Regions from separate parts of the Homo sapiens genome. Here all the other regions are linked to region 3. Evidence: promoter capture Hi-C in 16 types of primary human blood cells and fetal thymus (Javierre and others, 2016). All regions are on one chromosome and are shown on one strand. Each heading gives the region's core, a stretch centred on a gene start or on the middle of the fragment in contact. The rest is flanking DNA. Distances are from core to core; before and after follow the strand shown. Region 1 overlaps BABAM2 (BRISC and BRCA1 A complex member 2). Region 2 overlaps BABAM2 (BRISC and BRCA1 A complex member 2). Region 3 holds the start of MRPL33 (mitochondrial ribosomal protein L33).

Evidence for each region. The method cuts DNA at HindIII sites, captures the fragments that hold promoters and counts their contacts. A CHiCAGO score of 5 or more calls a contact.
Region 1: a contact is called between a fragment that was not itself captured here and the fragment with the promoter of MRPL33 in region 3, in 2 of 17 cell types (endothelial precursors and M1 macrophages). The highest score is 8.1, in endothelial precursors.
Region 2: a fragment that was not itself captured here is called in contact with the fragment with the promoter of MRPL33 in region 3 in 1 of 17 cell types (megakaryocytes); the score reaches 5.1 in megakaryocytes.

Annotation. Positions count from the first base shown.
Region 1 is chr2:28,283,562-28,286,386 of GRCh38, forward strand. The region is part of intron 10 of BABAM2 (BRISC and BRCA1 A complex member 2); the gene reads left to right. Among named protein-coding and RNA genes, the nearest start is that of BABAM2-AS2, 25 kb to the right of the region's middle. The HindIII fragment of the contact is 508 bases long and covers 1,199-1,706 here.
Region 2 is chr2:28,302,069-28,304,949 of GRCh38, forward strand. All of the region lies in intron 11 of BABAM2 (BRISC and BRCA1 A complex member 2), which reads left to right. Among named protein-coding and RNA genes, the nearest start is that of BABAM2-AS2, 7.0 kb to the right of the region's middle. The HindIII fragment of the contact is 302 bases long and covers 1,241-1,542 here.
Region 3 is chr2:27,770,143-27,773,044 of GRCh38, forward strand. It overlaps MRPL33 (mitochondrial ribosomal protein L33), which reads left to right and starts at 1,577. Exons shown (of 4, transcript NM_004891.4): 1 at 1,577-1,657; 2 at 2,532-2,550. The coding sequence starts at 1,636. RefSeq lists enhancers at 1,219-1,338, 1,572-2,388, 1,629-1,758. The HindIII fragment of the contact is 2,472 bases long and covers 1-2,190 here.

The DNA of each region.
Region 1 (2,825 bases), core at 203-2,702, 510 kb after region 3:
TAGTTTGTTTCAAGTCCCTTGCAGTTTAACTACCCAGAGAAGGTCTGTGGTACATAGATACACTAACCTTGTAAGAGTACAAGAAGAGTAACCTAATAGCCTGGGCCCAGGAGGTAGGTGTGGAGGGAACCAGGAAACTACAGATATAGGCCACACTTAGCTTAGGGACTGGCGTGTCTGATTAGGCCTTGGTGTCACAATTGTATGGCCCACTATCAGTATTGATATTCTTAAATTTGACTTTGAGTCATTTAGAAAGGGATAGGGGAGCAGTAAATGTAAGGTCCATTTTATAGAGATTTTTATCAAAAACAATGAAAAATAAAAGTTTTAGAGCTTTCAAAAACAAACCCCAGTTATCTGGAAAGCACAGCTGTCAGAAATGGTTTACTGACTGTGAATATGCATGCTTTTCTTCGGATTAACAATGATTCAATACCTTTGATTGAAAAGTATCTTATTCCTTTAAATTTGGATGTACAAGTCAGGCAACTCACTCAAGTCAAGGGCTTGCCTCAACATGATCACCTTATGTTTGCACAGTTTATTCTCTTTGAGTTAGTTAAATTTCAGAATAATATGACAATTTAAAAACAGTATTTTAGGCAGCAATCATACCTTTATCTCAAATGAAATTTCTAATCAGAATTGCTATCAAAGAGGAACATTAATTTCCATTCCCCTGCTGCCTGTCCCACCCATGCTCATAGAAGAAGTAATGACCAAGGAGCTAGTCAGAAAACAGTAGCAAGAAAACAAAACAAAAAGCTGGACAATTCACAGGCCAAAGAGGTAATCCTAAATATACAAAGATTGATTATATTGTGGGTCTTTAAAAAAAAAAAAACACTCACAAATAAATTGGTTAGCAAAAAAAGAAAGAGCCTTTATCTTAAAGAAAGCACCTATGAGAATGGAGAGAATATTGCATGATCAAAGCACAAAGGAAAAACTGTCTGACCGAGGTTTCATCAGGCTTCCTCTCTGTTCAGATCTTTTTCTGATCTGTGGTCCGGTTTGGCTGCAGGACCCCATTTGACCGTAGATTCTCTAGAGCTATGATTTTTTATTTGCTGGAAGAAGATTGTAGAATTAAAAATGAAGAGTTCCAAAGGACTCTGAATTTACCTCAAATAAATAGATGGACAAAACTAAGTTGAAAGCTTAGTTTTCAACTTGTTTTGAAAGTTGTTTTGAAAGCTTGGTTTGTATTTTCTCAGCTGGAAATCAGGCTAGGAAAAGAAATTATATAGACTCAGGTTTGTTTGTCTGTTTTAATTGCTTCTAAGAGAAAAGTGAGTAATAATAGGTATCATTTATGAAGACCTGCTATGTGCCAAGTATTCTGCACATATATTCATTATACCATGTAAACCATCCAGGAGCCTTGCAAGGTAGGTATTATCCCATTTTAAAGATGAGAAAACCTAGACTTAGAGAGTATAGTCAGTTGCCTGAGGTCAGGTAGCAACTGGCAAAGGAGGAATCAAGCCCAGATCTGTCAAATTCCAAACACCGTTTTCTTCCCAGTATGCCATCCCTCCCATCCTTAGTTCTTTAGGTTGCAGCCTGTATTTATTGAGCACTTTTCTATGTGCAAGACTGTATGGCGTGCTTTACCTGCTTCATTTCCAACCCTGAGCTTAAAGTTTTTTCCAGTCTTGGGAATGGGAAAAGAGGAGCACAGAGGTCAGTTCACCTGCCAAAGCTTGCCCACCTCGAGTACACATGCCTTCCTCACTCAACACTCGGCTTCACCCAGATAAGCTGTTCCCCACCCATCTTGCAGACTGAGTGGCTGATTTTTTAACATTTCTGGGGAAAATATCCCCATTCCACACATTCTAGTGGGTCAGACATTGTCCTATAATTGTAATATCCCTGCACGGTATAAGTCCAGCATGGAAACTGCTTGGAAAGGATAATGTAGAAATAAAAATAGGTTAATGAAGGTTTCTGCATGGGGGAATGACATGGTGACCAGTGCTTCTAACCAAGTCTTATGAGGAAACATGTAATCCTTCTGCCAGATATTTGATTTAAACTGTGTCCTGTGTCAGCCTTACATCCAATCCCAAACTTCAGGCCTGACTCTCTGGATTTTTCACATAGTAAGTCCATTATCAAGCCTTCCACTCAGCATCTCCCTTGAACATAAGAGATGTGCAAATAAGTCTTTTTTTTTTTTAATGGAAACGGGATCTTGCTATGTTGCCCAGGCTTATCTCAAACTCCTGGGCTCAAGCGATCCTCCCGCCTAGGCTCCCAAAGTGCTAGGATTACAGGCATGAGCCACCACACCGGCTGATAAGTCTTAAGAGATGTTTTGTAGAGAGGAATTGGTTCCTATACTGAGAAGTAAATAGTCACCCCCTTCTACTAACGAATAATAACTTTTTTTTTTTTTTTTTTGAGACAGAGTCTCATTCTGTCACCCAGGCTGGAGTGCAGTGGTACAATCTCGGCTCACTGCAACCTCTACCTCCTGGGTTCAAGCAATTCTCCTGCCTCAGCGTCCTGAGTAGCTGGGATTACAGGCAGGCACCACCACGCCCAGCTAATTTTTGTATTTTTATTAGAAACAGGGTTTCACCATGTTGGCCAGGGTGGTCTCGAACTCCTGACCTCGTGATCCACCCATCTCGGCCTCCCAAAGTGTTGGGATTACAGGCGTGAGCCACCGCGCCTGGCCTTATTTTTGATTTGTACATACTTTCCAAAGCATTCTCCATTCTAGAGGATTGTACCATGCTGGGGGCATTATAGGAAAGTGTCTGCCACACTGGAATGAGTGGTGTGAGCTTTTTTCCCTAGAAATGTTCAAG
Region 2 (2,881 bases), core at 142-2,641, 530 kb after region 3:
TGTCTGACACAATGAAATTTATCTTCATTTCATTCAACATAATTGTTTAAGATTTAGCTGTTATGGTGGCCGGGAGCAGTCATCACGTCTGTTCTCCCAGCATTTTGGGGGACTGAAGCGGGCGGATCACCTGAGGTAGGAAGTTCGAGAACAGTCTGGCCAACATGGGAAAACCCCATCTCTACTAAAAATACAAAAATTAGCAGGGCATGCTGGCACAAGCCTATAATCCCAGCTACTCCGGAGGCTGAGGCAGGAGAATCTGTTGAACCCAGGAGGCGGAGGTTGCAGTGAGCCAAGATCACACCACTGCACTCCAGCCTGGGTGACAGAGCGAGACTCCATCTCAAAAAAAAAAAAAAAATGTATCTGTTATGGCATTTCTTTTTTACTGCTGAGTAATATTCTATTATATGAATATAATGTATTAATCCATTCACCCATGTGTAGATACTTGTGTTGTTTCCAGGTTGAGGATTTTATTAATAGAGCTGCTATGACCAAGCCTTTTTGTAGACATGTGTTTTCCTTTCTTCAGGTAAATACTTGGGAGTGGGAGTACATATGTGATTAACTTTATGAGAAGGTGACAAGCTTTTTTAAAGTGGTATCGGTTTACCCTCCCATCAGCAATATGCCAGGGTTCCAGTTGCTTCACATTCTCACCAACACATCCTATTGTCAGTCTTTTTAAATTGTACCATTCTAGAGAGGATAAAGTAAGATCTCATGTTTTTAATTTACATTTCCTGGTGATAAATGATGTTGAGCATCTTGGCATGTGCTTATTGGTTTATCTCTTTCATGAAATGTCTGTTCAAATCTTGCCTATTTTTAATTTGGTTGTTAGTCTTTTTATTAATGAGTTGTATATATGAGTTTCTTTATATATTTGTCAGATATATTTTTTGTGAGTATCGTCTTTCAATCTGTGGCTTGCCATTTCATTTTCTTTTTCCTTTTTTTAATAGAGACAATATTTCGCTATGTTGCCCAGGCTGGTCTTGAACCCTTGGGCTCAAGTGATCCTTGATCCTCCCGCCGCAGCCTCCCAAAATCTTGGGATTACAGGTGTGAGCCACTATTCCTGCCCTTTTCATTTCTTAAGAGTGTCTTTTGATGAGCAGAAAATCTTCATTTTTTAAATGAAATCTGTTTTTTACGTTAATGCTCTTTGTATACTCAAAATTATTAGCCTACTAGAAGGTCATGAAGAAATTATCCTATGTTTTCTTCTAGAAGCTTTTGTTTTGATACATAGGCCTATGATCCATCTCAAATTAATTTTTGTATATGATATGAGGTAGATGCCAAGGTTAATTTTTTGTTCATATGTATCCAGATATTACAACACCATTTGTTGAAAATACTTTTCTTTCCCTGTTGAATTACCTTTACATCTTTGTCAAAAGTCAATTAACCACATGTGAGTGGATCTATTTCTGGATACTCTATTCTGTTCCATTGATAGGTTTGTATACCAATATTTCTTGAAATCAGGAAAGGTATACCAATATTTCTTGAAATCAGGAAAGGTATCCAAGCTTGTTCTTTTTAAAGATTGTTTTGGCTATTCTAGGTCCTTTGCATTTTTATATATCTTTTAGAATCAGCTTGCCAATTCCCACCTCTCCCCACTCCAACGCCCCCCCCACCAAAAGCCTGCTGATCAACAAGGGAAGAATTGACATTTTTACAATACTGAATCTTTTATAATACTGAATCAATGAACATGGTTTTATTTAGGTCTTTAGTTTCTCAGAAATTTTTAAAATATTTCAATGTAGAAATCTTGAAATATTTTTAAATGTTTTTCTTTTTCTTTTTTTTGAGACAGAGTCTTGCTCTGTTGCCCAGGCTAGAGTACCGTGGCGCAATCTTGGCTTACTGCAAACTCTGCCTCCCAGATTCAAAAGATTCTTGTGCCTCAGCCTCCTGAGTACCCAGGACTACAGACGTGTGCCACCACACCCAGCTAATTTTTGTATTTTTATTTATTTTTTTGAGACAAAGTTTTGCTTTTATCACCCAGGCTGGAGTGCAATGGCATGATCTTGGCTCACCGCAACCTCCACCTCCCAGGTTCAAGTGATTGTCCTGTCTCAGCCTTCCTAGTAGCTGGGATTACAGGCGCCCGCCACTATGCCCGGCCAATTTTTGTGTTTTTAGTACAGACAGGGTTTTGGCATGTTGGCCAGTCTGGTTTCAAACTCCTGACTTCAGGTGATCCACCCGCCTCGGCCTCCCAAAGTGCTGGCATTACAGGCATGAGCCACTGCATTCCACCTGTTTTTGCTTTTATTGTAAATTATATAAAAATATAAATATAAAATATTTATAAATATATAAAAATATAAACAAAATTTTTAAAAATTTATTTTCTAGTTTGTTGCTGGTATACAGGAATACAAATGATTTTTCTATACTGACATGGCATCCTGTGACATTGCTAAATTCACTTATTACTACTAAAATCTAATAGATTTTTTAAATAGATTTCTTATAATTTCTTTTTTCTTTTTTTTGGAGATGGAGTCTCACTCTGTCACCCAGGCTGGAATGCAGTGGCATTATCTTGGCTCACTGCAACCTCACCTCCCAGGTTCTAGCAATTCTCCTGCTTCAGCCTCTTAAGTAGCTGGGACTACAGGCACACGCTGCCACGCCAGGCTAATTTTTTGTATTTTTTTTTTAGTAGAGACGGAGTTTTACCATGTTGCCCAGGCTGGTCTCGAACTCCTGAGCACAGGCAATCCACCTGCCTTGGCCTCCCAAAGTGCTAGGATTACAGGCATGACGGGATTTCACCATGTGGCCCAGGCTGGTCTTGAACTCCTGAGCTCAGGCAATCCACCTGCCTTGGCCTCCCAAAGCACTAGGA
Region 3 (2,902 bases), core at 327-2,826:
CAACAAGTACACAAGTAATACTATTAATGGCAATAAGTGCTGTAGGAAAACATAAAGAAGAGTAAGGAGAATAGAGTTGGGGGCAGGGGCATGGAGTTTAAGAACTGCTATTTGGCTGGGCTAAAGTTAAAGTGACTTTCTAAGGGACAGAACAAGGACTAGAAATCATGTTCCTTGGCTTCCAGTCTTGTGTTTTCTTATAAATCCTCTAAAGGAAATATAAGAAACCTTATCCTCTTGAACATCTGAAGCTCTTTTTTGCCAATGCAAGGTAAGGAAGGATTTCGGCACCTGGAAGGTACTCAGTAGCTGGAGTCCGGTTATGGGAAGATAAATATCAAGAATGATTAGAAGGAAAAAAAGTATTATAGGTACTAAGGAGAAGGACGGTCTTAATTTAAAAAATTGAATTGTATTGTATGGAGAGCTGATTTTTTTCCTCCTCATCTTCTTTGTGATGGCACAGAGAGCTGAATTTTCTTTAAAACAGTTTTATTACTTTTTTTTTTTTTTTTTTTTGAGACGGAGTCTCACTTTGTCGCCCAGGCTGGAGTGCAGTGGCGCTATCTCGGCTCACTGCAACCTCCGCCTCCCGGGTTCAGCTAATTTTTGTATTTTTAGTACAGGCGGGATTCCGCGACGTTGGCCAGGCTGGTCTCAAACTCGTGACCTCAAGTGATCTGCCTGCCTCAGCCTCCCAAAGGGCTGGGATTACAGGCGTGAGCCATGCGATTAAATCTTATTTCACATCTGTAAGACTTCATATGTAGATACAAATCACGGATTAGGAAAAAAATCCAAAAGTCCTGATTATTAGTTGCGAAATGAGGTTACTGACGAGGTCCTTGGTGTTAGAGGAGCCCAGGTTCCTTACAGAGCCATGAAAAATTAATGATTGCAAACTGGTAGGTCCCAATGTCTACTGGGAAAGGCATGAGTCTTTGGAGTCAGATAAAATCTAGGTTTAAATTCTTACTCTGCCACCTGGTAGTTCTGTGATATTAGGCACGTGATGTGAATGCTCTCAATCTGTTATTTGGCTTCTATGTCAGGAACTGTGCTAGGTGTTTGGATACAGAAGTTTGAGATGCAAAGGGTCCTGCCCTCCTAGAGATTGGGATAACTAAGGAAAGGTGGGGTTCTTAATGCCGAAGGGACTCAGAAGAGTGAGAGTAAGGCTTAACCAGGCGGAGAGGGAGTTGGGTCGGGGGAGGCAACATTTTAAGAAAATATGCGAGGGGCTGATACGCTGGAGCGGCCGAAGTACAATACACAGTTGTTCTTGTGGGTCTAATGCAGGTGGTTGCGATTATTTCGTGAAACAAATATGGAAAGCACCTAACGCTGAAAGCACTTGACCCAGAAATAGGAGTCAGGGCCGGGGCGCGAACCCTGAGCTGTAAATCCCTTTCCAGAATGATGAGGATTCCAACCTCCAGCACGACAAAAGCAAAACACACTCGCTCTGAGAAACCGAGGAACGAGCCAGACGACTGGAGGCAGGTTCCAGGCGGGGGGCGTGGCCTCGGGCGACTGCCGGATGTCCTCTTCCAGAACCGGGCCGTGCCCCGGAAGCAGTTGTTGTTGGTTGGGGGCCTTTTGGCCGGTGACGGAGACTGCCCAGGTGTGGTCACCATGTTCCTCTCCGCGGTCTTCTGTAAGTGGGGCTGGAGACGCCGGTAGGGGTTACGGCGAGGGTTAGGGGGCCGTGACAGGCAGGGCCCCGGAATGATGCGGGGAAGGATGTGCGAACAGGACGGGAAGCTGCAGCTGCGTACTTTTCCAGGCCTTCAGGACCACAGCGTCCGGCATGCCCCGCGGCGCGCCTCCCTGCGCGGACCTGTGGGTGCCTGAGAAGGGGTCTGCGGTGTCTGGATTCAATTGCCGTCCTCACGGACCGTTGAGTCTGGCTGTGGGGCGTTTTTCTCCAGCCCGTGTTAGGAGAATCTTTGTCCGAAGGACCTCAGAATTTGCAGCCCACCTATTTCGAACTCTAAAAATAAGGAAACCGCTCCCGAGAGGGGCAATGAATTGCCTGAGTAATGCGGCAGGGCAGTTAAAGAAGTCCTCGGGCTCCCGAGTCAGTGCTCTTCTTTACCCTTGGCTGACTTCCCAGTTAGATTTAGTATCTGGTTTTCACCACATGTGATGGTTGTTGTAATTTGCAAAGGTTAAACTTGTCAAACAAGAAGCTTGCTGCAGCGCGAATACTTGCACCTTAGAAGAGGGAAAAAATGGAGCAGGTATTACTTTAGAAAGATTTAAAAGGTAGCCAGTCCAACAGTCATGAAATTATGCAAAATATTAAATCTAGAATTGTGTTGGTCTGATTGGATCTTTTAACCTTCCTTCTATAAAATCCTAAGGGGATCCCTAATAGATAGGGAATAGTTACTTGAGTGACACCTCATGGCATATTTCATAAGTTAAATATTTTTGGTTATTACTGATATTTATATGAACTTTGCATAAGAAAGAGAATACATTTATATTTTTATTTTCTTTTCCAACCCTTCCTGTCTACAAAAAAGTTGCCAAGAGCAAGTCAAAGTAAGTAAAGATTTTTCCTTTTTTAAACGTCACTTGTTTATGTTGGATTTGTTAGTCTAGCTGCTCCCAGTACATCCTTATATGAAATTAAGCATTGGGCCTTGATTTCCTAAGAGTTGGTTTGTGGATTACTTAGTTGATTATTTTTTCTTTATGAACTCTTTCAAAAATATTTTCCCTCCTGCTGAACTGAGCTACTTCTGTGAGCATTGAAATACTTGAAGGAACCTTTGCTGCTTTTCTAGTCCCAGGATTTGTGAGCTCACTGTCTGTTTCTAAACAAACCATTGGGCTGTGCTGTATTTGGACTACCACCATATTTCCATTTCCTCAAATCGAGGACCAGGGGCCA